Linked DNA regions of Homo sapiens: regions 2, 3, 4, 5, 6 and 7 are each linked to region 1. The links are contacts of gene promoters, found by promoter capture Hi-C in blood cells and fetal thymus (Javierre and others, 2016). All regions are on one chromosome and are shown on one strand. Each heading gives the region's core, a stretch centred on a gene start or on the middle of the fragment in contact. The rest is flanking DNA. Distances are from core to core; before and after follow the strand shown.

The links. The method cuts DNA at HindIII sites, captures the fragments that hold promoters and counts their contacts. A CHiCAGO score of 5 or more calls a contact.
Region 2: a fragment that was not itself captured here is called in contact with the fragment with the promoter of SCAPER in region 1 in 7 of 17 cell types (megakaryocytes, endothelial precursors, erythroblasts and 4 more); the score reaches 9.8 in megakaryocytes.
Region 3: a fragment that was not itself captured here is called in contact with the fragment with the promoter of SCAPER in region 1 in 3 of 17 cell types (erythroblasts, megakaryocytes and endothelial precursors); the score reaches 6.9 in erythroblasts.
Region 4: a fragment that was not itself captured here is called in contact with the fragment with the promoter of SCAPER in region 1 in 10 of 17 cell types (M1 macrophages, fetal thymus, megakaryocytes and 7 more); the score reaches 9.7 in M1 macrophages.
Region 5: a contact is called between a fragment that was not itself captured here and the fragment with the promoter of SCAPER in region 1, in 6 of 17 cell types (total B cells, naive B cells, naive CD4 T cells and 3 more). The highest score is 8.7, in total B cells.
Region 6: a fragment that was not itself captured here is called in contact with the fragment with the promoter of SCAPER in region 1 in 2 of 17 cell types (total CD4 T cells and M2 macrophages); the score reaches 6.4 in total CD4 T cells.
Region 7: a fragment that was not itself captured here is called in contact with the fragment with the promoter of SCAPER in region 1 in 1 of 17 cell types (naive B cells); the score reaches 6.6 in naive B cells.

What each region holds. Positions count from the first base shown.
Region 1 is chr15:76,903,117-76,906,986 of GRCh38, forward strand. It overlaps SCAPER (S-phase cyclin A associated protein in the ER), which reads right to left and starts at 2,224. Exons shown (of 32, transcript NM_020843.4): 1 at 2,183-2,224. RefSeq lists silencers at 1,800-1,879, 1,900-2,009, 2,020-2,329 and an enhancer at 2,070-2,570. The HindIII fragment of the contact is 6,645 bases long and covers 1-2,461 here.
Region 2 is chr15:76,191,641-76,195,510 of GRCh38, forward strand. It overlaps TMEM266 (transmembrane protein 266), which reads left to right. Exons shown (of 11, transcript NM_152335.5): 9 at 328-517. Among named protein-coding and RNA genes, the nearest start is that of ETFA, 120 kb to the right of the region's middle. The HindIII fragment of the contact is 4,829 bases long and covers 1-3,870 here.
Region 3 is chr15:76,207,829-76,211,698 of GRCh38, forward strand. No RefSeq gene overlaps it. Among named protein-coding and RNA genes, the nearest start is that of ETFA, 100 kb to the right of the region's middle. The HindIII fragment of the contact is 2,908 bases long and covers 777-3,684 here.
Region 4 is chr15:76,231,927-76,235,796 of GRCh38, forward strand. All of the region lies in intron 9 of ETFA (electron transfer flavoprotein subunit alpha), which reads right to left. Among named protein-coding and RNA genes, the nearest start is that of ETFA, 78 kb to the right of the region's middle. RefSeq lists an enhancer at 2,388-3,077. The HindIII fragment of the contact is 3,567 bases long and covers 412-3,870 here.
Region 5 is chr15:77,543,898-77,547,767 of GRCh38, forward strand. No RefSeq gene overlaps it. Among named protein-coding and RNA genes, the nearest start is that of LINGO1, 87 kb to the right of the region's middle. RefSeq lists a silencer at 1-3. The HindIII fragment of the contact is 4,566 bases long and covers 1-3,870 here.
Region 6 is chr15:76,288,411-76,292,280 of GRCh38, forward strand. The region is part of intron 4 of ETFA (electron transfer flavoprotein subunit alpha); the gene reads right to left. Among named protein-coding and RNA genes, the nearest start is that of ETFA, 21 kb to the right of the region's middle. The HindIII fragment of the contact is 6,746 bases long and covers 1-3,870 here.
Region 7 is chr15:77,504,908-77,508,777 of GRCh38, forward strand. It overlaps a transcript of HMG20A not described here. Among named protein-coding and RNA genes, the nearest start is that of HMG20A, 86 kb to the left of the region's middle. RefSeq lists an enhancer at 2,622-3,598. The HindIII fragment of the contact is 3,898 bases long and covers 1-3,583 here.

The sequences.
Region 1 (3,870 bases), core at 974-3,473:
CTTATCTTTAAAACATTCCTGCAGCTAAATGAAGACATTAATGACCTTAATATCAATCTTTTAGGAGTTCTTAAAATACCTATGAAGCACCAATGGCAAACATTTTTAAAGTCTGTTTAGAATACTATATCCTTTGGACCAGTCACCAAAATTTATTTATAAACACATTTGTACAGTACTGCTGATTACACTTCCATGGTTATTTGACCTGAACAACCAAGTGATTAACCATAATGCTATGGTCTGCATGTTTGTGTTCTTCAAAATTCTTGTGGAAATCCTAGTTTCCAAGGTCATATCAGGAGGTGGGGCCTTTGGGAGATGACTGTATTATGAAAGCAGAACCTTAATGAATGGGATAAATTCCCTTATAAGAGGCCAGAGAGAGACCCCTTCACCCTTGCACCATGTAAGGAGACAGCTAGAGGGTGCCATCTATTAACCAGAAAGCAGGCTATCACCAAACACTGAATCATCAGACATCTTGATCTAGGACTTCCCAGCCTCCAAAACTGCAAGAAATGAATTTCTGTTGTTTATAAGCCACTCAGTCTGAGGTATTTTGCTATACCAGACCCAAATGGACCAAAGACACATAGAGTATATTTTTAATGCAGCTCAAGGGAGTGTGGAGAAAGAAGGAAAAGAGCATTTGTTGAGGGCTTACCATGGGCTAGGAACAGTTCTCAATACTTTACAGACACCTAATTTATTACTATCAACAAAATTATGAGGTGGATATTATTCCTACTTTACAGATAAGAAAGGCTCAGAAAAATTAATTTGCCAAAAACAAGGGTTGGGGCTGAGATTCAAACTCAAAACAGTCTGCCTTCAAAGCCATCAGATTACTTCTCCCACAGACAACCTTCCAAATCACATTAAAACTTGACTCTTTGATTGATTAAAAATATTAATTCTTTAGTGGATATCATTCTTCAAGTGGCATAAATCATCTGCAACCAACAAACTTTGAGGAAAAGTCATAGTTAACAGAAATAACAGAAGGGAAAGAGCACCAGTATAGGCCAGAGTGGGACAGTGGTCAGACTACCAACCTTAGGTCAGAAAACTTAACCCCAGATTTACCACTCACCAGCTGGTGATCTAAGGCAAGTAATAACCTTTTGAGCCCCCGTTTCTCCATTCATAAAATAAGTATTACTCCTAGCCCATCCATCCTTCTACCAGATTATTTATGAAGATGAAAAGTTAATGATGAAATTAATCCATAAACTAAGACAAACTATAATTCATATAAGGAATTAGTATCTGTTCGGTAAAATGACTATTAATGAATAGCTATTTTCATGGAAAATAACTTGTCACAACTAGAATAAGAGATGCAGTCCACCAGCAACAGGAAGCTGCTCACAAACAGGCGGCCTCATCTCAGCTGGGGCCCCCTTAACAGCAGCAGGTGTTGCTTACAGGACCAGTTTTGTGCCTGCTTTCTAACAATCCCGTTCCTCCCTGGTGCCGTTCCCACGAACGCGCCTGGAAAACGGTGTAGAGGAAAGGCGCCAAGGAAGTGCTGTTTTGGAAAAGAGCAGCAACAGAGGCAGGAGGCTGGGTCCCACTACTCCCAGGTGCGAGAGGCTCTTCGCCCCTCCAGGCCTCAGCGCACGCATCTGGAAGACGGAGAGGCCATTCCTGCCCCGTTTCCTGGGCAGAGCTAAGATCAGAGTACAGGGAAAGCATGGTAAACCCCGCTGGGAATGACAGATGACGAAGACGATCACCTGTCAAACGAAGGGAGGCTCCTCCAGGGGCCCCTCGCATTTAGACATTCCAGAAGCCTCGTCACCCGCGGCCGGGGCTGCCCCCAAGTGAGGTGACGCGGCAGCCCCCCACTCACCCCTCAGACCGCGTAGTGTGCGGGGTCTCACGTCCCTCACACCCCAGATGAGCCCGCAGGGCAGGGCCCGGACGCGGCTCACCCCAGCCCCCGTCCCGAGGCCTCCGAGGCCGACCTCCGAGCCCTCCCCAGGCGACCGCGGCTCCCCTCCCCCAGCAACGATCCCTGCCCCGCTCAACTCGCACTCCCAGGTGAGGGGAGGGGGTGAAAGGGCGTACCCCGCCGCCATTTTGTCCCCTGGTCCCCGCAAGGCATTCAGACGGCCCGCGCCCCAACCCGGACCCGCCCGGGTCTGCGCTACGCACGCCCCTCGCGGACACTCACCCCCGACCGCCCTGCTTAGTTCGGGGCGGCTCAAAGCGTCCCGCCGGGAAAGGGGCGTGACGGGGCGGGGCAGGGAGGCCTCGGAGAGGCGGGGTGGCTTCCCGGCGCACCACGTGATCTCAGCCGCTGCCGCGCCGCTCCCGGCTGCAAGATCTGTGTTGTCCGCGCGCAGGCGCACGCCCGTTCGCGCCGTTGGGGCGCCCAGGCGGGAGGTGTGAGGGTTGATTTGGTTCGATGTCCCGGCGCGGCGTTTCCGAAGCTGTTTCTTTTCCTAGGTTAAGCTTACACCGCCGCTTTTGGCCACACAGGTCTTTCTCGTACTCAATCTCTTCCCTCCTCCTGCCTTATCACCACAGTCAATCCACAGATTAAGGACTTAGAGACGCGCCTCACAGAAATCTGTGCTGGCGAAAGCACTTGACAGGAGCACGCTGGGCTGCGCTGAACACAACTAGGCCTCCGAGAAGCTTTATCAGGGCCCTTCTGTGTGCCAGGCTTGGAAGGTCGAAGTACAGAGACCTAACAAATACGTTTCATCTACTTCAAAGACAAACATATGATGAATTAAATACTTTAACGTTTAAATCAGTCTGAACAAAATAGAAAAAAGATTCAATGCAGACTGTAATTATCAAACGAATATTCACCGTCCCTTTTCATCCAGCTGGGAAACAGCTCTTTACCCTTCCCTCTCCCTCCCCACCCGCAGTAGGCGGGAAGTCCTGGACTCACAAGCGTTGTGGGGGCAGGAACCATATGGCTATGTTCTGGCTCCCCTTCTCTCTTGCCTTCTTAGAAAACTCGCTTTTTCATTTATTCAGCAAATGTTTATTGACCACATACTATATATCAGATGGTATTCTAGATGCTTGGAGTTAATACGTGAGCAAAATAAACAGAAATCTCTAAAAAACCTCCGGCTTCTTGGAGCAGGGTGAAACCAGGCAAGTGTTACATCAAGTTTAGCCAAAAGCTGTGTCCTTACATATTTTAAGTTCAGCCTGAAGGTTTCTCCGTAAATAGTAAACTATAACCTAAATGGAGGTGTAAATACACTGCAACCTACTCTTGCGCCAATCACCAAGTTTTGGCCAAAGACGGCCAACTGTTCAAACCGTGTTCAAATAAGGTAAACGTCTAGCTATAACCATTCTGGCTGTTTCCCTACCTCACTTTTCTTTCTCTGTCTATAAACCTTTTTCCACCATGTGGCTCTGCGGGAGTCTGTATGAACCTACTCTGGCTCAGGAGGCTGCCTGATTCGGGAATAATTCTTTGCTCAAACTCTGTTTAATTTGGCTAATATTTTGCTTTTAACACAAGAAATAGTAAACACAATAAATAAGTAAATTATATAACATGATAAGCACTACAGTTAACAAAATGAGTAGGATAAGGGGGATAGAGTAGGGAGCATACTACAATTCTATAAAAGGCGGTCAGGGCCTCATTTCTTAATTATCCCCACTTCCTTTCATACTCATAAGCATGTAAACAACCTGAAGTCTCTCCCATCTTGAAATCTCCCGCCGAACCTACCAGACTCCACTTCAACCTCTGCTTTCTTTCCTATAATACATTTCTCCAATTATCTAAACAAGAGTGCCTCCAATTCCTCAACCACTACTCAAGTCTGGACTTACTGCACTCTGGTTTCTGCCCCACCACCCCACTGAAACCATTCTTTC
Region 2 (3,870 bases), core at 615-3,114, 710 kb before region 1:
TGCACCCAGGGCTCCTGACTCCCCGTCCAGTGGCCTTTCCACAAAGGAAACACGTTGTGTTTCCTCTCCCGGGCATCCGTGAGATGGGGGCCAGACTGCAAGGCACCTGAGACGCAGGATCGCACAGGTTGGAAAAGGCTCCGCAACCGTAAGAAGCTCTTGCGAACCGCGATGCTGGGAGATTCCTAAGGAATCATCCAGCTGCGGGAGGCTCAGCCCAGTCCTCCCCACCCCGCCCCCATGCAGGAGCAAAGCGCCCAGAGGTCAGGCTGGAGGCCCCCGCCGGCCCCTCGCCGCTGATTCAGCCTTGCCCGTCTCCCTCCGCAGTTTGAGATCCGGCAGCTGCGCGCGCACCTGGCGCAGCAGGACCTGGACCTGGCTGCCGAGCGCGAAGCGGCGCTCCAGGCCCCGCACGTGCTCAGCCAGCCGCGCAGCCGCTTCAAAGTGTTGGAGGCCGGCACGTGGGACGAGGAGACGGCGGCCGAGAGCGTCGTGGAGGAGCTGCAGCCCTCGCAAGGTAAGCCCGGGTCTCCACCCGGCCCCAGAGTGTCACGGCCGGGGATCCCCCTCGCCTCCCTCTCGCGCCCCGGGACTGTGCGCAGAGTGGATGGGGTTCCTTTCAGGTGTGTGCCCCTCCTTCACTCGTGATTGGGGGACACGCTCAGATCAGTAGCCTCGGTACTGCCTGTCAGAGCCCAGGAGAGAGCATGTAGTCCAGCCACCGACCCAAACTAGAAATGACTCGTCCCCATTTCATGCCTGTGGCCACTGGCGTGCGTTGTGTGTGGTGTCTTCCCTGTCCTCGCGGTAGCCGGAGGAGGAGGTGTGACTTTTCTGTTGTATGGCTGAAGAAACCGAGACCCAGGAAAGCCGTCCAAAGGCGCATCGCTAATAAGTGGCAGAGCCAGGCTTCCAGACAGAGGTCTGGGGCTTCCTACTGGACTACCACCTACTGGGGCCCAAACAAGTCCAGGCCCGGGGCCACAGTAGCCCAGAGCTTGAGCCTTGCAGACGGTGAGAATTCACGAGACGGTGATGTTGGTGGAGATGGGAACACGAGCGATAGCCCAGGGTAGGGTCCTGTATGGAAGGGAGTTATTTCGAGATTCAAATCCCAACTCTTCTGTCAGCCAGTTATGTGATGGGACTCTCTTGGGGCCTTAGTTTTGCCAGCTGTCAAGTAGGAGCAGTACTGAGGCTTCCTCACAGGGCTGCTGCGAGGCTCAGAGGTTTCGGGAATTGCACGGGGCCACCCAAGCCAGGAAATGGTGGTACTGGGCTGGGAACTCGGGCTGTGGGACCCAAAACCCCAGCTTCATCCAGGAGCCACTCTGCCTTGGCATGCCGTGTCCCCTGCAGGGCAGTGAGGACGCAGCCGGGCAGGCTGAGCAGCTGGGGAGGCAAGAGGCCTGAGCTCCAGCCTCTGCCACTCCTCAGCTCCATGACTGGAGGCTTCAGTGTTCCCTTCTGTAAAATGGACTCTTAACTCCAGCTCTGTCTGCCTCACAGGACTTACGAGGAACCGATGGGTGTGAGAAAGCTCTGAGGGCTGTAAGGCACTGCAACACTGCAAACAGCTTTTGGGAAACGAATGGTTGCTTTTTTTTTGGAGACAGGGTCTCACTCCTGGAGTGCAGTGGTATCATAATAGTTCACTGCCACCTCAGACTCCTGGGCTCAAGTGATCCTCCCACCTCAGCCTCCTGAGTAGCTGGGATCATAGGTGTACACCATCTCACCCAATTAATGTTTTTATTTTTGTAGAGGTGGGGTCTTGCTATGTTGCCCAGGCTGGTCTCAAAGTCTTGGCCTCAAGTGGATCCTCCTGCCTCAGCCATGGAAAGTGCTAGGTTTATAGGCATGAGCCACTGTGTCCAGCCACTCTTTTGAGAGATCTTCAGATCTTAGAAACATAGGATTTGGGGGCTAGAGGGGATTTCTGGGTCCAGCCCTTCAGCTGATGTGAGAATCCCCTCTATAACTCTCTGCCATGAGCCATGCAGCCTCAGCTCGCCCTCCTCTAAGTGCTTCATACCTCCCTGGGGAACCCACCCCACCTCCACATGGCTCTGCCTGTAAGAAGATTCTTCCTCAGACTGCACTGAGGCCTGGTCCCCTGCCCCTGCCTCCCCACCAGCTGTGGGTTTCACGCACAGGCAGTGCCATCCCAGCTGAGACTGTTTAGAGATTGTTTCTCCTCCAGGGACCATCACCTGCATTCCCACAGCCAATCTTCGGGGACGTGCTCTCCAAGTTCTTGATGTACTGCCTCCTCCCAGAGCTCTCCAGCGTTTTGGTCCCTCTCAGAGTAATATCCACAACTGAATGCAATTACTGGGGCGCTGCAAGCCCAGGGCAGAATGTTGAGGTGGCCACTACTGCTTTTTTTTTTCTGGACCCAGGTCCCCACGATGCAGCCAGTAGGCTCCTGAGTTTGTGGGGACCACTTGGCTGAGCTCATAGCTGACCCAGCCTCACGTGCTCCCCACACAGCTCAGCTGAGCCACGTGTCCCAGCAGCCCAGCCTTGGGCAACAGGCTTTTTGTAGCCTCGTGCAGAACTTCACAATCATCAGCGTCCAGCTGTAGCTTGTTTGATTCCTGCCTTTACTCCAGGGCTTGGTAGGTCCTGATTCACAACCCATCGCCAATTCCTGATTAGTTGAAACAGCCCCCTTCTTCATCTTCATCGTTCAGCCTTTGTTATGTCTGGACCTTGCCCAGCTCCCTGCCCTCTGCAGTCTCCCCTCCCCCACCATACCGTGATTGTTCCAAAATCTTTCATGCCACTCCCCGACTTCCACCTTTCCTGGTTCCCTGTGTCCCTCAGGAGAAAGCCCACGCCCCTTAGGCTGGTGGATTAGTTTGCTAGGACTACCATAACAAAATGCCACAGACTGGCTAGCACAAACTAGAGAAGTGTATTGTCTCACAGTGCTGGGGGCTGGAACCTGAGATCAAGGTTGGGCACGGTTGCTTCCCTCTGGGGGCTGGGAGTGAGAATCTGTCCCACGCCTCCCTCTGGCTCCTGGTGGCGGCTGGCAATCCTTGGCATCCATGGCTTACAGTAGCATCACCCTGCTCTGCCTTCATCTGCACATGGCGTCCTCTCTATGCACATGTCTGGGTCTAGATTTCCCTTTTTTATAAGGGCCCCAGTCATATAAGGACCTCATCTTAACTAATGACATCTGCAACCGCTTTCTTTCCAAGTAAGACCACATTCTGAGGTACTAGGGGTTACGGCTTCAACATGTGAATGAAGAGGGGGTACCCATTCAACCCTTAAGAGGGGGCAGGCACATAAGACCCCTGACGATCTTGCCCCGGGCTGCTTCCCCAGCCTTATCTCCTTCCACCCCAGCTTGCCTTTCATTCTAGAGGAATGGAACAACCTTTAGTTCTGTAAATGTTCTGTACGGTTTCTGAGTCTCTGCATGCTGTTCATGGGATGGCCCAACCTGCCTACCAGACTTCTCTTCATGCTTAGAACCCATCTTAGAGTAAGCTCCCAGATCTCCACACCGTTCCCTGGCAACCTTACACCGACTCCCAGGTCCGGATCCTGCCCCACTGCCAGGAGCGTTTATGTGTGTCTCCCCTCTAAACTTACTTCAGGGCCTGCCTCAGTCAGGTCTCCATAGAGTTTGTTGCATTGAATGTAATCTTCAAGCCGGTAACTGATCAAAGAACAAAATAAGGCTGTCTGACATCACTTGTTCTGGTGTGGAGCCCTGCGTCTTCTCTGGGAGCTGAGGCCAGTCAGCAGTAGTCCACCCCAGAAACCCCACTCTTGGCTTTCAGCCTCTAGGCTTGTGCTTGTGGAATCCACCTTCTTATTCTTTTTGAAAGTTCTTCTGGAAGGTGGGAG
Region 3 (3,870 bases), core at 981-3,480, 700 kb before region 1:
AGTATACCAAATCAACTCTTCTGTTTGTCGTGGAAGAGGAGAGCTGTTTTTAGGGGTAGTTTCAACGCTGAGCTACAAAACTGGCCCACTTCCAGAGAATGTGAGCAGGGAATTTTTGATTATCTCCCTGACATGAAGTCAGTTGTTAAACCACTTAAAGGGGAAAAAAAGGAAGGAATGTCAGGAGGAGGGTGGTGGGACAACAGTGCAAGCAGAGGAACAGCAGTGAGCTAGGCAGGGTTTGGGAACAGGGAGAAGTTTGGTGTCAGGAAGAGGATGGAATGGGTAGGAGGGGGAAGGGACCACATGAGAGCAACCTGGAAAAGGACAGGTGAGGCTGCTCACCAGAGGCCTTGGATGCCAGGCCAAGCCAGATGTTCTCCCTAGAGATAAAGCGCTATGGAAGGGCTACCACAGAGTCTTCTGGTAGTTGCAGAGGAGCAGCCAGAGGGAGGGGCCCGTGCCCAGAGGAGAGGGAACAAGGCTGCACATGGGCAGGCAAGATGAAGGCAGCGGTGGTGGAGGAGACGCTGGGGACACCTGACTGATGGGACTTGGGGGAACTGATGAGGAGGAGATGCCACCATTTCCAGTCTGTGGTGTCTGAGCATGAGACATCAGGATGGCTGTGCCTGGCACCAAGAGCACAGAGAAGGATGCCAGAGCCAGGAACATGGCAGTCCTTTCTGCAGACTCCAGAGCCCTTCCTCCAGCCCATCCCACAGCAAGTCCTAGGGTGGGGCCTGGGGGCCTGAAGTGCAGGAGATGGAGGTAAAAGCTTCGCCTTTCATGGCTCCCCTGGGCACCATATCCTACAGTTATGGCTGGCGGGCAGCTGGGGGCTGAGGGAGATGGAGCCTGAGCACTCCCTGGGAGGTTTGCAGCTCTGGGAAATGGCTCCCCGTTCTCCTGCACCCTTTTGGAGAACCCACTCTGGTGGCCCAGAGGAGTCATCGGGCTGTCCCTGAAGGGAGGGTCTGGTAACAGCCACTGTCTCCTGCTAGAACAAGAGGGTGGTAACAATAGTGACTCCCACGTCTGCATTTCCTGTTGTGACAGGTGCTCTTCACAGGCTTCCCTCCTTAGCACAGCCCTGGAAAGTGGGCGCTATCTTCCCTGCTTTACAGAGGAGAAAACAGCAGCCATGGAATGACTCATTCAGGGGCTTGCCCAAGGGCACACAGCTAACTAGTGAGCTGTAGTGGCAGGATTCAAACCCAGGTCTGGCTGGATTATATGCCATGCTAGATGTGAAATGAGCTGTCCAGAATCAAACCAGGTGCCACCAGGAAAGCCAAAGTAAGAAATCAGGACTCAGAGCCAGCAGTGCTGGTGACTGGCCCACCAGGGAGCTGGGCCAGAGTCTGCAGCCCCAGCCTGAAGCCCACCCAGGATGAGGGAACCATAAGGCCTTCCCTGAGTGGCACAACAGGCCCCTCTCCAGCCAGCCCTGGGCAAGGTTCCCAACCAAAGTGTGGCTTTTCAGATCAAGTCCCACAGACAGGAGTGTTGGGATGGAACCTGTGTGGCTAGAGGCTAGTGGCTTGGAATTCTATTTAGCATGGTGGGTGTCCACCTGAAATTCAACTCAGGAGCTCCTTTCTCCTTCCAAGACAGCTCTTGACGGAAGCCAGAGTCAAAAGAGCATGGCTTCCGCCTTGGTGCTGCCGCCACGCTCCTCCCTGGTGCTATTCAGTTACCTCTAAAGAGAGAAGACAGAGTTGGGGTCCCACTCTTGGAGCTGCTGACAAATTATCTGGGCCCAAGGAATCCCTCTTACTAACAAGCTGACAGTACCCTGTGCCCCACTCAACACCTGTGTGGAGTTGCTTCACAAGGACCCCCAACAACTCTGGGGGCTGAAACAGCCAAACCATGGACATCTCAGGGCTGGAGAGAGGTCTGTTCATCCCACTCTCTCCCATGCCTCCTACCTCAGGTGCCACTGTACCTATGCACGGGATGTGGCAGAGACTGGATTCTCAGCCCAGCCCTGTTTCTGGTTTGCTATGAGGCTCCAAGCAAATCCTTAGACCTGCTTCCTCCCCATGTACAACAGGAATGATCTTGTGCCTCCCACCCTGAAGGCTGCTGGGATAGCTAATGATGTAACAGAAGGGAAAACCCTTTGAGAATGTTTCAGGGGAGACACAAACAGAAAGCATCCTTATTAATGAGAAGCCTGGGGTGTTTTACTGCCAGCACATGCTCAGCACTTTTGGGGTCAGCTGCCCAGGAGACGCTCTTGCTGCTGCTGATAGTCTGGTGTGGGAGGGTGGCAGTGAGCCCCGCCCCTAGTCATAACAGCCAGTCCAGCCACTGCCTGCTCCTCTCCTGAGTGCATCCCTGCTCGCACATACTCATTTGTTCCATGCCTGTATTCACTCTGAGTGAGGTAAGAGAGCACTGTTATCCCCCAGACAGGAGGCACCTTATCTTCCTTCCTCTCCCTTTGGTCAGTACTATTGGAGTACTACTGGAGTACTTGCCAAAAACTTGTATTTCCCTCACATTAACTAAGTGAGGAATTCATCACTATTCTGAATATCTTTGACTCCACTGCTGAAAAGTTTGGTATTATCTCCTGGTGAATAGTTAATTATCCAAGGAAAATGATGAAACATTTGCTGCTAAAATTTATTGCAAGCTACCAGGAGACAGGGCTGGCATAATTTTATGCAGAGCCCCAGGCTGCAACATAGGGAAGCAGGCTGCCTCTTCATCCTGAAACAAGCAAATGAAATTGACTACCCTGGAGATCAATCAGGACATTAAACACTGTGATGGATGTGGCAGAATTCTTCAGTGTCTGAGATTTATGGGTCACCCTTCACCGAGCACTCTAGGAACCTCCCCAACATCAATTAGGCCTCATAACTAGGTATGCTCACCTCCGCCTCCACTGATTAAAGAAGCGATAGGGGGTTCTGGGACCTGCACCGTGCTAAATACCACAAAAGGCCAATGAGCAGACTGGATCCAGATTGCAGTACAAAGACCCCTGCTTCCCTGAGCAAAGAGTGGTTCAGAATGGAGGAGTGTCCGGCTAGAAGGGGACTCATGCATCAGAGTCTAGACCTTGCATTTTCCAGAGAAAGCAGCTCAGTGTGTCATGTTCCTGGGTAATCCTGTTCTTTGTCCATGCTGGCCTTCTGCCTGGAATGCACTTCTTCATCTGGTTGATTTTGCTGCCCCTTCTGAACTTGGTGAGGCCTTCATATCTTGCTGCCCTGCACTGCAGCCCACCCTAGTCAGGCTAGATTAGGTCCATCCTCTGCACTCCCATTGAGGCACTTGGGATATGGCATGTGGTTGGGAGCAGACTGGCCTGTGGTCACCATTTACTAGCCATGCGTCCTTGGGCAAGTGTTTTAAGCTCTGTAGGCTTTAGTTTTCTCATCTGAAGAAGAGTTGCTGATAATCCTTGGCTTATATAGCACTTTCATGTATGTCACCCCATCAGTGGGGGAAAGAGTAGGAAACATTCAAGAAATCAGAATCTCAGGAGAAGAGGCAGTTTGCCCCAGGTCAAACCTACACCTTGTGAGGTTATGAGACGTAAATGAGATAACGTATGTAAAGGGCTCAGCACAGCATCTTGGGCATAAGAAGCCCTCAAAAACAGTATTCACTGTCTCCATCTACTCACCTCGTATGACACCCACCAATACACTCATAGGTTAAAGCTTGTTATCTAGAAAGATCACCTAGTTCACATCGCCATTTTACAGATGATTAAAATGAAACCTGAAAGGAGGGAAGGTGACCAGGGTGCCTCTGGGGCAGTAACAGGAACAGGATGAGAACCCAAGGCTCCTGTTGACCAGTCCACCCAGTGGTCTCCAGGTCCCAGACCCAAATGTCCCCTAT
Region 4 (3,870 bases), core at 945-3,444, 670 kb before region 1:
TATTAAACTTTGTATTTAGAAAAACCAGAAATACAAATTACTATCAAGAGATTTTAAACACACACACGTACACATACACACACACACACACACATTCTCTCTGAATAAAAAATAACAAACTTCTCAAAGGTATGGGCTGAACCTTTGTGTTTCCAGAGCCTAACAAAAAGGCCTCCATACCACAGTTTTTTGGTAAATGTTGATGATATTTGTACCTCTTCCTGCCCCTCTGCCCTCAATAATTACAAAGGGAATGATGACTGACACTGTTCTGTCTCCTTATCTAAAATTTTTACAGTGCCTTTGTTTGAAAATAAAAACACACTTCCATTATGAAAAACTTTAAGCACTTTAATAAGTGCTTAATTAGAAGAGCTTACCTGCTTCATTCTGTTTACCAGGTATGATTAAAGCTTCACTTGAAAACCTTTTCCCACAGAAAAACTGAACAAACAAGTCCTGGCCTGGGTAGGAGGTATAACTACCATGTAACCAGACTGACACTAAGGTTTTGTCACAACTGACAGTAAAGTCTCTCCTCAATATGAATAATATGTGGAAGGCACTGAAGGTGGTTCTGTTATACTTACTTTTATTACAGGGCAGATACTTCAAAAGCCAATGACAGTGTCAAGGTGGTCCCACCTTGTTTTCTGCACTGCTTATGATCTCATTTAACAATTGCTCAATCCAAAATAAGAGAGCATTTCAACTAGGATCTGAAAATAATGTTATTACCTCCTAATGTCATGATTTTTCATAGCACCTAATTGTATATGGCCACATACAAGTCAATTCACCTCTCAGGGGCTCACTTTTTCCAATTGTAAACAGAAGAGGTACACCTCCAGCACTGGTGCTTGTAAAGAAAGCTCCCCAGGATACTCTGATGTATAGCCAGAGCTGGAGAACCACTACAATAAGTGATCCCTCAGCTCTTTGGCAGCCTGAATCTGACAACTGTCTAGCCCCCTGCAGTACTCCCTGATCTTTACAAGCATAAAGTGTCCAACTGCTCCTAGAGCAGCACCATGTAACCTGGAAAAGGAAACAATCTAGTCCCCAAAGTGAGTTAATCATCTAAAAATGAGATGAGCTTGTTTTTTGAATCAACTTGTTCTATAGTTACCAAAAGCCTGAAGACAAGAACAATTTGGCGTAATAAGACTGTGTCTTAGGGTGGGGAGGAATGCTGCAGAAAGTATGGATGAGGATAAAAAGCAATTGCATGCTCTGTGATTCTACCTTCAATGTATCCAGTGTGTCAATTGTGACCCTACATAGTCGGACAATGCAAGGAGGCCCTGACATCATACTGTCTCTCAGACATGGACACTTGCATAAGTAGTAAACTTCTTCCACTACTTTCTATTTAAGATTTAGAAGTAATTCAATAGGCTTTTTTTTTTTTTTTTTTTTTTGAGATGGAGTCTCACTCTGTCACCCAGGCTGGAGTGCAATGGCACAGTCTTGGCTCACTGCAACCTCCACCTCCCAGGTTCAAGCGATTCTCCCGCCTCGGCCTCCCGAGCAGCTGGGACTACAGGTGTATGCCACCCCACCCAGCTAATTTTTGTATTTTTAGTAGAGATGGGGTTTCACTATGTTGGCCAGGCTGGTCTCGAACTCCTGACCTTGTGATCCACCCACCTCGGCCTCCCAAAGTGCTGGGATTACTGGCATGAGCCACGGCGCCCAGCCTTCAATAGGTAATTTTAAGGTCACCTCAGTTTATTCTGACTAGCATTTCATTCATAAAGGGACATTTGTTAAACTGTTAATCAAAATATACTAACATTCATATTCAGAAAAACCCGGCAAACAAATTCTAACATAAAGATTTTTAAAGCAAGCTATTTAGCTAGACACCACTCTTTTAGGTATATTCTCAAAGCAAGCATTGGAAAAGACCAGTAGTCCTGTAAACGAGTCTTTCTGTCATACATGTCTACAGCAAATTCAAGTCTTAAAAGCTCCATGTGCATTATAAAATGCTAATAAAAATGTTGATTCACTCTGGCAGTAAACATAAACATAATATAAATGAAATTACTTAAAACCCCCTGTGTCCCCAAAAATGAATTCCATTGACTTTAACCATAAGTGTCACTAAGGAAATAAGAGATTCTGGGCCAAAACAAACTGAAGGCAGTTGCTCCAGGGCCATTTCTACCTTTCTGATCACAATAAATGGTCCAAATGGATCCACATGACCAACAGGACTTTATTTTACTGTCTTGCAAACATGGTCCTCTGAATAAACATAAAAGCACTGAAACAATAACCCAGAACAAGTATAGGGATTTTGGCGGCTGCTCTGAGGCTCTGATAGCTCTCTCAGGAAGAGAGGCTTTTTCCCTCCTTTTTAAAAAACATGTACAGGCAATTAGACTAATATCTTAGTCTAATTCCTCATGGTTCAGAAAGCATTTTTGTATTTCAATAATAATAATAATTAGTATACACAAAACTCTCTACAGATGCTAATTTATGGGGCACTTCAGATGCTGCTTCACAACATAACAAGACAATCCCTTCCCTGAGGCACTTTCCTTCTAAATCAGATAGTAAGACCATTTGGAGAGAAAGTGAGAGATGTTGCCAGGGAGTACAGCAATTAAGGGTTATACAAGGCGTGGTGGGGGACGGTGGGGATTAAAGGAACCAACAGAAACAGAAAGAAGGAGGGAGAGTCCTAGAGATAGGCCTCGTGGCTTTAGAATCTAGAAGAGTGAGAATTTAGAAGAGAATGGATCAACCCCAGGTGGCTGATAGCAGTCTGAGTTGATCACTCTGTGATGCCAAGAATAGGGGCTGTGCGGAGAAGTAAAGCCACAGGATGGGAAGAGGACCAGAGCTTATTCTGAAATATAGAGAAGGGATAGCACTTAACCTTAACACAAACAAGTACTGGCAGAAAAAAGCACAAATACCTCTTCCTTTGCCAAAACCTATAGACTCATTCAAAGAACTCAGGGGCTGAGGTCTAAACTAGTTACAGTGGGCTGAGATAGAAAGGGCAGCAGGACTGAGAAACTGTTGCATCTGATGCGGTTTAACAGGTTTACCGTATCACTGTGGTTAAGAACCTAGGCTCTGTAGCCTCATTGCCTCCATTCAAATCCCACCTCTGCCATCTGATAGCTGCATGACCATGGGCCATTCATGTAACCTCTCTATGCCTCAGACTGCTCATCCAAAACACTGGAATTATAAGAACTCCTGCTTTATAGGGTTACTGTTGAGGCTCGTCCTTAGCATAGTATCAGATTTCCCAAGACACATTGATGTGTCACTCACGGGTTGAGGTTTATTCAAATATTGATTTTCTCAGCCCACTAGGTGGCCAGGTGGGCTCCTGAGGTAGCCTCAGGACTACCATGTACAGCTGAGCAGGCTGCACACTGAATAACTCTGAAGGAGGGCACCACTCTTAACAGTCACTATAGCCCTGCATTTTTATTACAATAACTTTCCAACAGATGGCAGTAAAGTAACTTGAGACACCAGTACTTTATAATTTGTACAAAAGAGTTGTGTGGACTTGAAGTACTGGGTGGCCAGAATCCCCTGTGGTACAAATATTCTAACTGTCTAAGTGTACCATAATAGGAAAGAGTTGAGCAGCACTGGGTAACTGATTTTACTGTTGTTGATATTCTTACTGTACCTTACAGGTAATATAAAGATGACTAATTCTCTGTGCCCTGTCCTCAAGAAGCTCACAGTCTAACAATTACAGGTTACGGCAAGGTCACAAAAATCTGTAATCCAATAAAGGAAAATGGAAAAGAGGTGTGATAGAGCTACAGTCTCTCATCAGCCCCTCACTTTCCTACCTGCCACTGAGAAGTGGAAAAGCCGTTAGGA
Region 5 (3,870 bases), core at 441-2,940, 640 kb after region 1:
GGGGCTTGGAGGGGTGGCTTAACCCCTTTCCTCCTTGATTAATCAAATACTTAAAATAATGGCTGAGGTCATGATTGATGGACAGAGCATAGCTAATTACCCTGGAGATTAAAACGACTGTTTCTGTTTAAAAAGGCTGCAAATGAGTTAATTATTTCCTTTGCTCACCTCTCTAACCTCGTTACACTTCTAAATGAATAGCAATATTGATCTTGGAACTGATTTTGGTGTTACACCGCCCGAGCGGGTTTAATTAGGGTTTGAAAATGCTGCAGTGCCTCCTCCTTCTGACCGAGGAAATTAGACTTGGGTTTTACTTACATTTCACAGCCGTGTCCTCCACACAGATAGAAGGGCTGGAACATGGCGCAGTGGTGCCTGTCATCCCCTGCCCTGCCCTGCCCTGGCTCCCAGCTCCACTCCCATCCAGAGCAGCACAGACTGACCCTTGCTTCTCACCTCTCAGGAAGACGTGGCAGGAAGGCCAGTGGGGTCAGCTTGTTTAGCCTTGTCTGGTCACAGATTGGGCTCGGAGGCTCGGATATGATAGGACAGAGCCTAGCATCACTTGACGAGGTGGGGGCAGGCCTAGGACCTGAACTATCACAGACTCCCAACTCTGGACCTTGACGGCTCCCTGACTGAGTTAATATTTCCTCTCTGTCCCTCCTCACTTCTCCAGATGCCTACGGAGCCTCCTGGTGCTCTACCCCACCTCCAGCTCCCTCCTGCCTCTCCTCTCCTTCTTAGAGCTCCATGAAGAAAGGCCCCAGCTCGATGAAGGTGGGGAATGAGAGGGGGAGCAGGGCCCAGGATACCAGCACCCCTGCCCTGGATCTGCAGCTGACATCTAGGTGACCATGCCCTGTATCTGGGCCTCCCTACTCTGAATCTGACAGTCTGTCTATATCACTCCCTCCCACCTCCCCCAGCCAGAATTTTCAAGAGCAAGTAGCATCTCTGGGAGCCAGAGCCAGAAGGGTAGGGTAGTGAGAGTGAGCAGGACAGGCTTGGGCCAAGGATATAGGACTGAGTGGGTCTGCTCCTTCTTATTCCAAATAAAACCTTCCCTTGACCCTGGCTCTCCTCTGCCATGGCCAGATCTGTCCCAGTCTCACTTCTTTTTTTAATTTTTCCAGAGACAGAGTCTCCCTCTGTTACCCAGGCTGGAGTACGGTGACAGGATCACAGCTCACTGCAGCCTTGAACTGCTGGGCTTAAGTGATCCTCCCACCTCAGCCTCCCCAGTAGCTAGGACCACAGATGTGCACCACCATGCCCGGTTATTTTTTAAAAATTTTTGGAGAGATGGGGTCTTGCTGTGTTGCCCAGGCTGATCACAAACTCCTGGCCTCAGGTGATCTTCCTTCCCACCTTGGCCCCAGTCCCAATTACTGAGAGTTGTGTACATTCACTGCCCCCGTCTCTGACTTCCTCCCCACGCCTCTGCCCTCTGTTTTTTATGTCTCCCAGATAAAACGATTCTTACTGAGGTCACCAGCAACCTCTAAGTTGCTGAACAAAGTGAGCGCTCTGTTCAGGGGGTCTGGGCATGGATCTACCTGACAGCTTCTCTCCTTCCTGCAGTGGCACTGGCTCCTGGGTTTCCTCCTCCCTGCTCCCTCTTGGGACTGGGTGCTCCCCTCCCATCCCTGAAGAATCTCAGGGTTTGGCTTAAGCCCTCTTCTCTTTCTTCTCACTTGACGCGCCCTCCCCTGGTGAGCCCACCTCTCTCGTGGTTGGAAAGTGATCTATCCCAAATTACTATCTTAGCTCAGCCCTCTCCCTTGAGTGCATGTAGGTCCAGCCAGGGAGTGACATGGTTAGACTTACACTTTAGAAAGGCCACTGTTACTGTAGTGTGGCAGGAAAGGATGATGGTGGAGACAGAGGAACCCCTGAGGTGGCTGTTCTAAGTCTCAGCGGAAAAACATTCAGGCCTGTGGCTGAAGAAATGGGGAGCAGGGGGTGATCCACTGGACGGGGAGGCTTTGGGGATTGATTTCCTAGGGGCACGTTCCAGGGCAATGTCCCATTGTCAAGTTGGACCTCTGAGTGCCTTTGGCTGAAACTGGCAACGTCAGGGAGAAGCAGGCTTCCAGGGAGTGTTCAGGCTGTTGGGTTGAGTTCAAGGTGCCTACAGGGACATTCAGAAGGAGAAGGAAGGTAGGTGACTCCCTCAAATTGCTACAGCCAGCTTGTAGCCCTGCCATTCAGGGTAGAGGTCATCAGCATGCAAGGAGCTAGGCGGCGACTGCATGCCCAGAAGCACTGCTACAGATAAGACAGCCAGGACGATGTGGGAGAGCAGAAGGCACTGCATTCGACCCTGGTGATTCATGCCTAATTTGGCCAGTGAAATCTGTGAGCCAGACCACATGCCCTGCCTTGTCAAACAAGGAAAGAAGTGTGGAGATTGAGGGTCAGAGACTCTAACTGAATCCCAACCTCACTAATAGACTGAGCCCTGATCCTGCTCACAGTCTGAGCCCTCATCCTTGTCACAGTCCAAGGAAACAGGACTACCCAGCTGGAGGCTCTTAGGTAACACCTTCCTGTTTCCATTTCCCCTTTTCTCCCCTGAGGTAAGGATGAAGGAGAGGGAGCTTAGTAGTGCCAAGGAAGCAAGCCTGGAGTACTGAAGGCAAGATAGAGAAAGCACTTCCAATGTGCATGCCCAGGAATCCTCAGCTTTTTGGGGGTTCATGGCATACATGTGAACACTGGAACTTTCAGTGGCACCATTGAGAAAAGACTCACTGGGCACAGTGGCTCACGCCTATAAGTCCAGCACTTTGGGAGGGCAAGGAAGGTGGATGACTTGAGCCCAGGATTTCAAGACCAGCCTGGGCAACATGGTGAAACCCTGTCTCTACAAAAATTAGCCAGGCATGGTGGTGCACGCCTCTAGTCCCACTTACTCAGGAGGCTGAAGTGAGAGGATTGCTCGTGTCCAGGAGGTGGAGGTTGCAGTGAGCCATGATTGCACCACTGAACTCCAGCCTGGGCAACAGAGTGAGACTCTGTCTAAAAAAAAAAAAAGAAAAGAAAAGAAAAAAAAAAGATTCAAAACCACCCTAAAGGAGCCAGCGGCAGTGTCCTTGTGGTCATCACTGTGGCATCAGATGCTTCACATGCTTGCAAAAGCTCATCAGTTACTACTGAGCTGTCTGGGTCCTCAGGACACAATTGCCTTTAGATGGAGCTATTTACTGTCCTGGGTATACTGCTGTCCCTGTATCACTGCATCCTGTGACATACTGGGCATAGACAGAAGAGTTCCCTTAATGAGTTCTAGGGTGGTGGTTAGGAGTTCCAAGCTCTGAGTTCCAGACTGCCTGGAATTCAAATCCTGACTCTGCCCATCCCAGCTGTGCGATCATGGGCAAGCTGCTTCACCTCTCTGTGCCTTAGTTTCCTCATCTGAAAGTGGGGGTGATAATAGCACTTACCCCCTAGGGAGTTCACTTATATTAAGTGCTTAGTGCCTGGCATGTGGTGAGTGCTCTCTTAGGGTTGGGTGTTGCTATAACTTTGCTTATTGATGCATGCTTGGCTGACACTGTAAAGATCACAACACCTCAGAGAGGCCAGTATTCAGGCTCTGGGAGACCAGTACAGTTCGAGGGCAATTAATTGCTGTCTACTCTGTGCTGGGCGCTGGTGACACAGAGAGAAAACTCCACATTCCTGCTCTCAGGGGGTATACTGTCTGTGAAGAGATCGTCCTAACACACACTGTGTGTGCTGTGTTGGGGGGAATGTGAGTGAAATGGACTCTGTTGGGGGGGATGATGGGTGTTCATAACAAATACATTTATTGCGTGCCTACTGCGTACCAGGCCCTGCTCTGGGGACTTTACACATATT
Region 6 (3,870 bases), core at 495-2,994, 620 kb before region 1:
TGTATAAAAAAAAGAGTAAGGCCAGGTACAGTGGCTGACACCTGTAATCCCAGCACTTTGGGAGGCTGAGGATCACCTGAGGCCAGGAGTTTGAGACCAATGTGGCCAACATGGTGAAACACCATCTCTACTAAAAATACAAAAAATTAGCCGGGGATGGTGGTGTATGCCTGTAGTCCCAGCTACTCAGGAGGCTGAGGCATGAGAATGAGAATTGCTTGAACCTGGGAGGCGGAGGTTGCAGTGAGCTGAGATAGTACCACCACACTCCAGCCTTGGTGACAGAGCGAGACTCTGCCTCAAAAGAAAAAAAAAAAAAAGGAAAAGAATAACACTAACCTGAAGAACAGCCTGTGTAGTACATATTTAAAAAGCAACAAAAATAAAATAAAGGTGTGTTCTTGTGCTTGTACTGAAATAGATGCATGTGCTAACTTTGTCCTCAGCAGCAGGAATCCTTGGGAAAGTCACAGTTCCCCAAGTCTCAGTTAATTCTTCTTCTTCTTCTTCTTTTTTTTTTTTTTTGGAAACAGGGTCTCATTCTGTTACCCAGGCTGAACTTGCAGTGGTGTGATCATAGCTCACTGTAACCTTGAACTCCTGGGCTCAAGAGATTATTCTGCCTTGGCCTCCTGAGTAGCTGGGACTACAGGCGCACGCTACTGCGTCCAGCTCATTTTTTGGTTTATGTTTTGTTTTTTTCTGTAGAAGCGGGGTCTTGCGTTGTTGTCCAGGCTGGTCTCGAATTCCTGGCCTCAGCTGATCCTCCTGCCTTGGCACCCCAAAGTGCTGGGATTACAGACATGAGCCACCATGCCCATTCTGAAGCACCTACTTAATCTGGTTTAAAAACCAGATTTGTCAGTATTTAAAGCTAGCTTCAGTAAGTAATCCTCCTCCTGAACCACCTTCTTTAACTGTTCAGGAATTATTACTGGAATAGTTACTTGGCTGAACAGATTATCTTACAAATTTTATGTTATACAGACTTTGCCTCTTTTAAAAGTTTTAGAACTTTCTAAATTGCTCAAAATTTAATGTCTTTTGTATTTTCATTATCCCTTGTTTAACATATCTTCAAGAAATTTTACCATGGTACTTAAAAGTATGTTTTCCTGGATCTGGTCTTCTATCTAAACATCATGAGGGTGGATGGTACACAGATATCTATCCTATTAAAAATATATCCCATCCAACAAGCTGCCTGCATGGTTTCTGGGAAGAAGAAGCAATAATTGAGTTCTTTTTGTGCATAAAAAATGACATATTTTAAAATTCTAGCAGACAAGTATAAAAGTGTGTTATCTCAAAACCACAGCTGGTGAAGGACTATCATACAGCAAATTGTTTGGCTTCTTCTGATAGACGTTTCTCATTCCAAACCCATTTACAGGCCGCACGACCAGCTACTATTATGTGACCCTTATTCTCAAAACTCCCATCTGTTACAACATAGCAATCATGGCCAGAGTACTAAAATCTAGCTAATGACAAACACCCTTTCATGGTCTAACACTCTGTTAGGTGAACTGTCATCATAGAAGGAAACTCAAGGCTCATGAAATTATTTAAATCATCCAATATATAATCAAAACTCTCAGAGACAGAACGGTCCACAAAGATTATTTCACCCATCAGACTGGAGGAAAAAATGTTAAAATGTATACTACCAAGTGTTGACAATTAAGTAATAGGTATCAAAATTTTTAAACTACATAGCATTTGACTCAGTGATTTCACCTCTAGAACTCTATTGTAAATAAATTCCAGCCCATGTTTACACAGATACATGCATGACCATGTTTTCTTGCAGTAAAGTATATAAATGCAAAAAACTGGAACCAAGTTAACTGTCCTTAGCTAAACATGGAATCTTATGCAGCCATAAAAAAAGAGAAACATTATGAGCCAAAGTCGCTACTCTTTTTTTTTTTTTTTTTTTTTGAGACAGGGTGTTGCTCTGTCACCCTGGAGCACAGGCTGGAGTGCAGCAGTGTAATCTCAGCTCATTGCAGCCTCAACCTTCCAGGCTCAAGCAATTCTCCCACTTCAGCCTCCCAAGTAGCTGGGACCACAGGCATGCACCACCACACTCAGCTAATTTTTTTTTTTCATTTTTTTGTAGAGATGAGATCTCACTGTATTGCCCAGGCTGGGCTACAACTCCTGGGCTCAGACAATCCTCCCAAAGTGCTGGGATTACAGGCGTCAGCCACCGCACCCTGCCCAAGTCATACTCTTAAGTAAAAGCTACTATTCACAAAACAATTCATGCCATATTATCCCATTTTAGAAGTAAAAAATATATAGCTGTACATGTACTGTAATTTAAAAATCCATAGAAGGAGGCCTAAAAGAATGTACAATTGTTAACAGCTATACTTCTAAAGAGGGGAGGGTGAGTTGGGAATAAGAAAGCAGGACTTTGACACCTTGCTCTGCACACTGCTGTACTACACGCAGTCTTCCTAATAAGGATGTATTTGTGTACAACTTATTTTACAATTTTTAAAAGTGAAAATAGGCTAAGCACAGTGACTTATGTCTGTAATCCTAGCACTTTGGGAGGCTGAAATGAGAGGATGACTTGAGGCCAGGAGTTTAAGACAAGCCCGCACAACATAGGGAGACTACATCGATACAAAAAATTTGAAAATTAGCTGGGCATGGTGGCATGTACCTGTAGTCCTAGCTACTCAGAAGGCTAGGATAGGAGGATCGTTTGAGCCCACAAGTTGGAGGGTATGTTGAGCTACAATCGTGCCACTGCACTCCAGTCTGGGCAACAGAGCTAGGCTGAAGCAGGCAGATCACCTGAGGTCAGGAGTTCGAGACCAGCCTGGTCAACACGGCGAAACCCTGTCTCTACTAAACATACAAAAATTAGCCAGGTGTGGTGGCACGCACCTATAATCCCAGCTACACACGGGAGGCTGAGGCAGGAGAATGGCTTGAACCCAGGAGGTAGAGGTTGCAGTGAGCTGAGATTGTGCTGCTGCACTCCAGCCTGGGCGAGGAAAGTAAGACTCCATCTCGAAAAAAAAAAAAAAAAAAAGTAGGCCAGGCGCGGTGGCTCACGCCTGTAATCCCAGTACTTTGGGGGGCCGAGGCGGGCGGATCACGAGGTCAGGAGATCAAGACCATCCTGGCTAACACAGTGAAACCCCGTCTCTACTAAAAATACAAAAAATTAGCCGGGCGAGCTGGCGGGCGCCTGTAGTCCCAGCTACTCGGGAGGCTGAGGCAGGAGAATGGCGTGAACCCCGGGGGGCGGAGCCTGCAGTGAGCCGAGATGGCGCCACTGCACTCCAACCTGGGCGACAGTGAGACTCCATCTCAAAAAAAAGAAAGTAAAAATAAAGACTAAAAATGACACCTTATTAAGAATGGAACAAAAGAAAAGAGAGCTAAGATAACACCCACGGCCACAGAGAGAGAGCAAGAAAAATCCACTGACGAATTCCTTGTCTTAAGCTCCCATTACACTCCTCCCTCCATTTTTAACTTTATGTAGACTGCTATCCATCTTATAACACACTCATTCTTCAGACACATCACAATGCACATGATCAGATTACAGCTTTCTTTACCTTAAGGATGTCTTCAACCACCACAAGCCCTTTCCAAATTCCCTACGTAGATAAAATTTGGCTTTTCTAGATATCCATCAGCCATCCAAATAAACCATCTCTTAAAATGGGCTACTAATAGAAATGACTCTTGCTCGTTCACTCTCTCTCTCACATGCAAGCAGAATTCAGCATTACTTTTACATGCAGAAAATTTTAAAATAATAGCCTAATTAGAGTTTTCTCCACAACATAATTTGAAAACCTGGAAATGGTAGTTTTAACGGAAAATTATGACAAA
Region 7 (3,870 bases), core at 385-2,884, 600 kb after region 1:
AATAGGGGCCATGACATGTCTGCTGTATTATTGTGGGATTTTAGCGTCCTTGGGGGTGCCTGGCACAGTGTATGTTAGTTGACTCACTGAGGTTCGGGGTCATATGTGGCAGACCCCTGAGCACTGAACAGGGGATGTGAACACCTGTTTGGACACAGAATCCTGGACTGGCCTTGATCAAACGCCTTCCTCTCTTGAGGCCTTGGTTTCCCCCATGTGAATAGGAGGAAGAAGTGGAGTGACTGCCCACAAGTGCCCTTCCAGCCCTGGACCTGTGCTCCAGATGGCTGCACGTCCTGGCCAGCAATGCATGAGTTGGGACGTCCACTCTGAGGCTTTGCCTCATCGACAAGGCTGAAGCAGGCAGAGATTTCCAGGTTCGAGGTAAAGGGCCTCAGCCTCAGCTTGGGCAGCTTCCCAGAGCTGATGCAGCTCAGACACATCTTTCCTAGGACATCTTCTTCAGTCAGGGGACTCAGGATGGCCCAGTCACCAGATGCCCAGCTGGACAGAGCAAGACCCTGGCAAGGTCGTGTAGGGACAGCATGCTGAGCCCGATGGCCTTGATCATAGGGCTCTGCCTCACCCTCTCTGCTCCCACACCCTACGCCTCCCATGCAGGAGAACCAGCAGGACACACTGGCTTCTGCATCCTCACCAGCCAGCACCTGCTTCTCCGCATGTTCAAGAAATACAGTGCAACCTGGGGCCTGGAGGAAGGAGGAAAGGCAGCTGAGCCCTTGATCTGCTGCTCCTATCACAGTTCACCAGCTAGAGAAATGTGATGCATGCAAGGATATAAACCAGGCTGATGTGGGCTGCAGGGCTACAGGGCTGCAGGGCCGGAGGGCATGTCCATGCAGAACACCTGTGATTCACCGGTGTGCAAGCTCAGGGGCTCCCGGGAGTAGATGGCAGAGCCAGATCTGCAGCCCTGAGCTGTGTCTTCCTTCTGCCATACCACTCTCTTCTTGAACAGACCAGGTAGCTGCTATTTCAAAATGCAACCATTCCATCTTCTAGTCTAACTCTCCCAGGACAGCCCTTCTGGAATTGGGAGCCGGTGCCCAGAGTCTGCCAGCTGCTGGGATAAACTACCTGAGTTTCTTCAACCACTTTTCCCATGTAGGATTTCTACCCCCCCACCTAGGGTTGGTAGAGTTAGCAAAAAAAAAAAAAAAAAACCCTTTAATTAATTAATACAGGACACCCAGTTAAATTTGAATTTCAGATAAACAACAAATAATTTTTTAATATAAGTAAGTATGTCCCATGAAAAGTTCAACTTTAACTGGGCATCCTCTATTTTATCTAGTGATCTCATCCATATCCCACCCCGATCCCAGCCAAGCCGTCTCTGGGAAAAGCTAGAGAAGGTTTCAGAAGGTCACGGGGCCTCGCATTAGGATCAGGGTGTCTTTAATGGGCAGTCCTCCCCTGTGCACTCCCCTCCCTCTCCACCAGTTGCTGGTTCACGATGAAGCCGCCGATGCCCCTTGCCTGCTCCGGAGGCAGTGCGTTCTCCCCGCAGGGTGATTGTGTTTATTGTCTCTGCACCAAGACAGACCTGGAGTGTGCGGCTGCCCTCTTGACTCCCTGTTCTTGCTATTCATTACCACTGCTCAGCCACTTTGCCTTTGTTGCTGAGCACCTAGAACACAATTTATTTTTCTCTTCCTCCCAAAGTGGGGGTTCTGGGAAGGAAGCCAAGGATTTGAGCCAGGGCCGCCAAAAGACAGAGCTCCGCCTCTGAGACTCCTGCCTGCCACACTGCGCCCAGCCCACGTTCCGGTTTTCACGCCTGCGGAATGGGTGTGACCTGTTCCAGCCAAAGGCAGAGGCTCCCAGACCCTGGAGGGAGCCATCTGTGGAAACAGGAAATGTCCTTGCATTCCAGCCATGGCCCTTGTAGGCGTTTCAGTGCCCCTTATGCCAGTGGGGATGTGATGAAGAGAAGGAAGGTCGGCCAGCGCCTCCACACCACACTGCAGAGGCAAAGGCCTGGGCAGCCCTGGTGTGGTTCATGCTATGTGTCCACTTGACTAGGCCACCATGCCTGTTTCTGGATGAAATTAACACTTGAATCCGTAGACTGAGTAAAGCACAGGGCCCTCCTTCATGTGGGTGGGCTCCATCCAATCAGTTGAAGGTTCGAACAGAATAAACGCCTGAGTAAGAAAGAATTTCCTCTCTGCCTGACTGTCTTCAAGCTGGGATGTCAATCTCTTCCTGCTCCCAGACTCACACTGGAACTCACACCATCAGCTTTTCTGGGTGTGGACTCCTCAGCCCCCATAATCCTGTGAGCCAATTCCTTATAACAAATCTCTCCGTGCATCATGTTGGTTCTGTTTCCCTGGAGGGCTCTGAGTAATACAGGCTTCTTCCTTCCTCTTCCCTGCTCCCCACTGTAAAAGGCAGAGTGTAGGCAGGTGCATGTACACACACCCCCCACACCCCTCCCAGAAGCAGTCAAAGGACAGGTCTCTCCAGGTGCCTCCCTCCGCTGTGCCTGGTCCTGAGGTTGGAGAATATCTTAGCTGAGGTTCCCCTGAGGAAAACTGAGTCTAGATTTATGTGAAAATGATTTCTTAGGGAGAAATCTAAGTGGGAAAGACAGTAGAGGGACAAGGAAGTGGGACGCAAGCAAAGAGAAAGAAGCCAAGCCAGGGTGTGGCATCAAGCCAAGCCACGCGAAGGGCTGCGTGTCTCATACTCCAGGGAGCTGTGGGGACACTTTAGAGGTGCCCCAATCAGGGGCAAGCGGGCAGGGGCAGTTTTACTTCCTTGCCCTCCCCAAATGGAGCACAAAAATGTCCAGGTATTTCCTGTTCTTCACAGGTGCGGGCAGAGTGGTTCTGGCAGCTCAGGGCCATTCTCCAACAGAGACAGCTGACTGTTGGGAGTGAAGGCACAGGGGTGGGTAAAGATAGGGGGTTGGAGGAGACATGAGGATGGAAAGCATGTTGTGGGGGGGCGGTGCTGAGCGTAGGTCTGGAGAGCAAGAGAGGGGCAGGTTGGGGAGGTCTTGTCTTTGGGGGGGCCCACCCCAAGCACACCTCTGTGAGTCTGAGCTTCCCTTGAAAAAAAGCCTCCCTAAAGAAGCAAGTAGCCCGCTGCACCCAAGCCCTACGCACACAGTCTCCAGGCCAAGGCTATTTTTGTTTTCCTCTAATAACAATGAGCACATTGTGCACACTTCCTGACTAATCTGCTCAGTGAGGTTGGGAGGAGGGACGGGGAGGTCCTAGGACAGAGGGCCCATCTTAGGCTGAGAACTAAGCCTGAACCGTCCAGCTAAGTCAGGTGTGGGAAAGACCCCAACTCCCAGGTCCAGCCACTGCCCCTTCCCGCCTACTCAGCACCTGCTTGTCTCATATGGCTGCTCGGGTTCTGCTGTCAGAGCAGAAGCTAAGGACCCGCCAACTCCCTTCGTTGCTTCTTGCAGGTAATAGTTGCTTCCTGAGCACCCACTGTACACCAGATCCCGTGCTAGGCCCTTTGCATGTCAGATTTCATTTTCCCTCATGCTCAGCTCTATGAATAGTGAGTGTGAGCCCATTCATTCAGACAAGGAAGCTGAAGCTTGGAAAGACTAAGTGACTGATCCAAGTGTACGCGGCTGGTCAGTGGTGGGGGCCTGTTCAAATCCAGGCCTGCTGAACCCCACCCCTGGGGTGAGGGTCTTTCTGCACCTCTGAGACCTTGTGCCCAGGAATCCACACTGAAGTCCCTAAGAGGTAGTGGCACCAAGCCAGGGCTGGACGGGTCACTTGGCAGGCCACGTATATGCTTTGGCACCAGCAAAGCAGGGCACGCCCCAAATGAGAAGTTTTGGAGAAATTATCCATTTTTAAAAATCATTGCAGA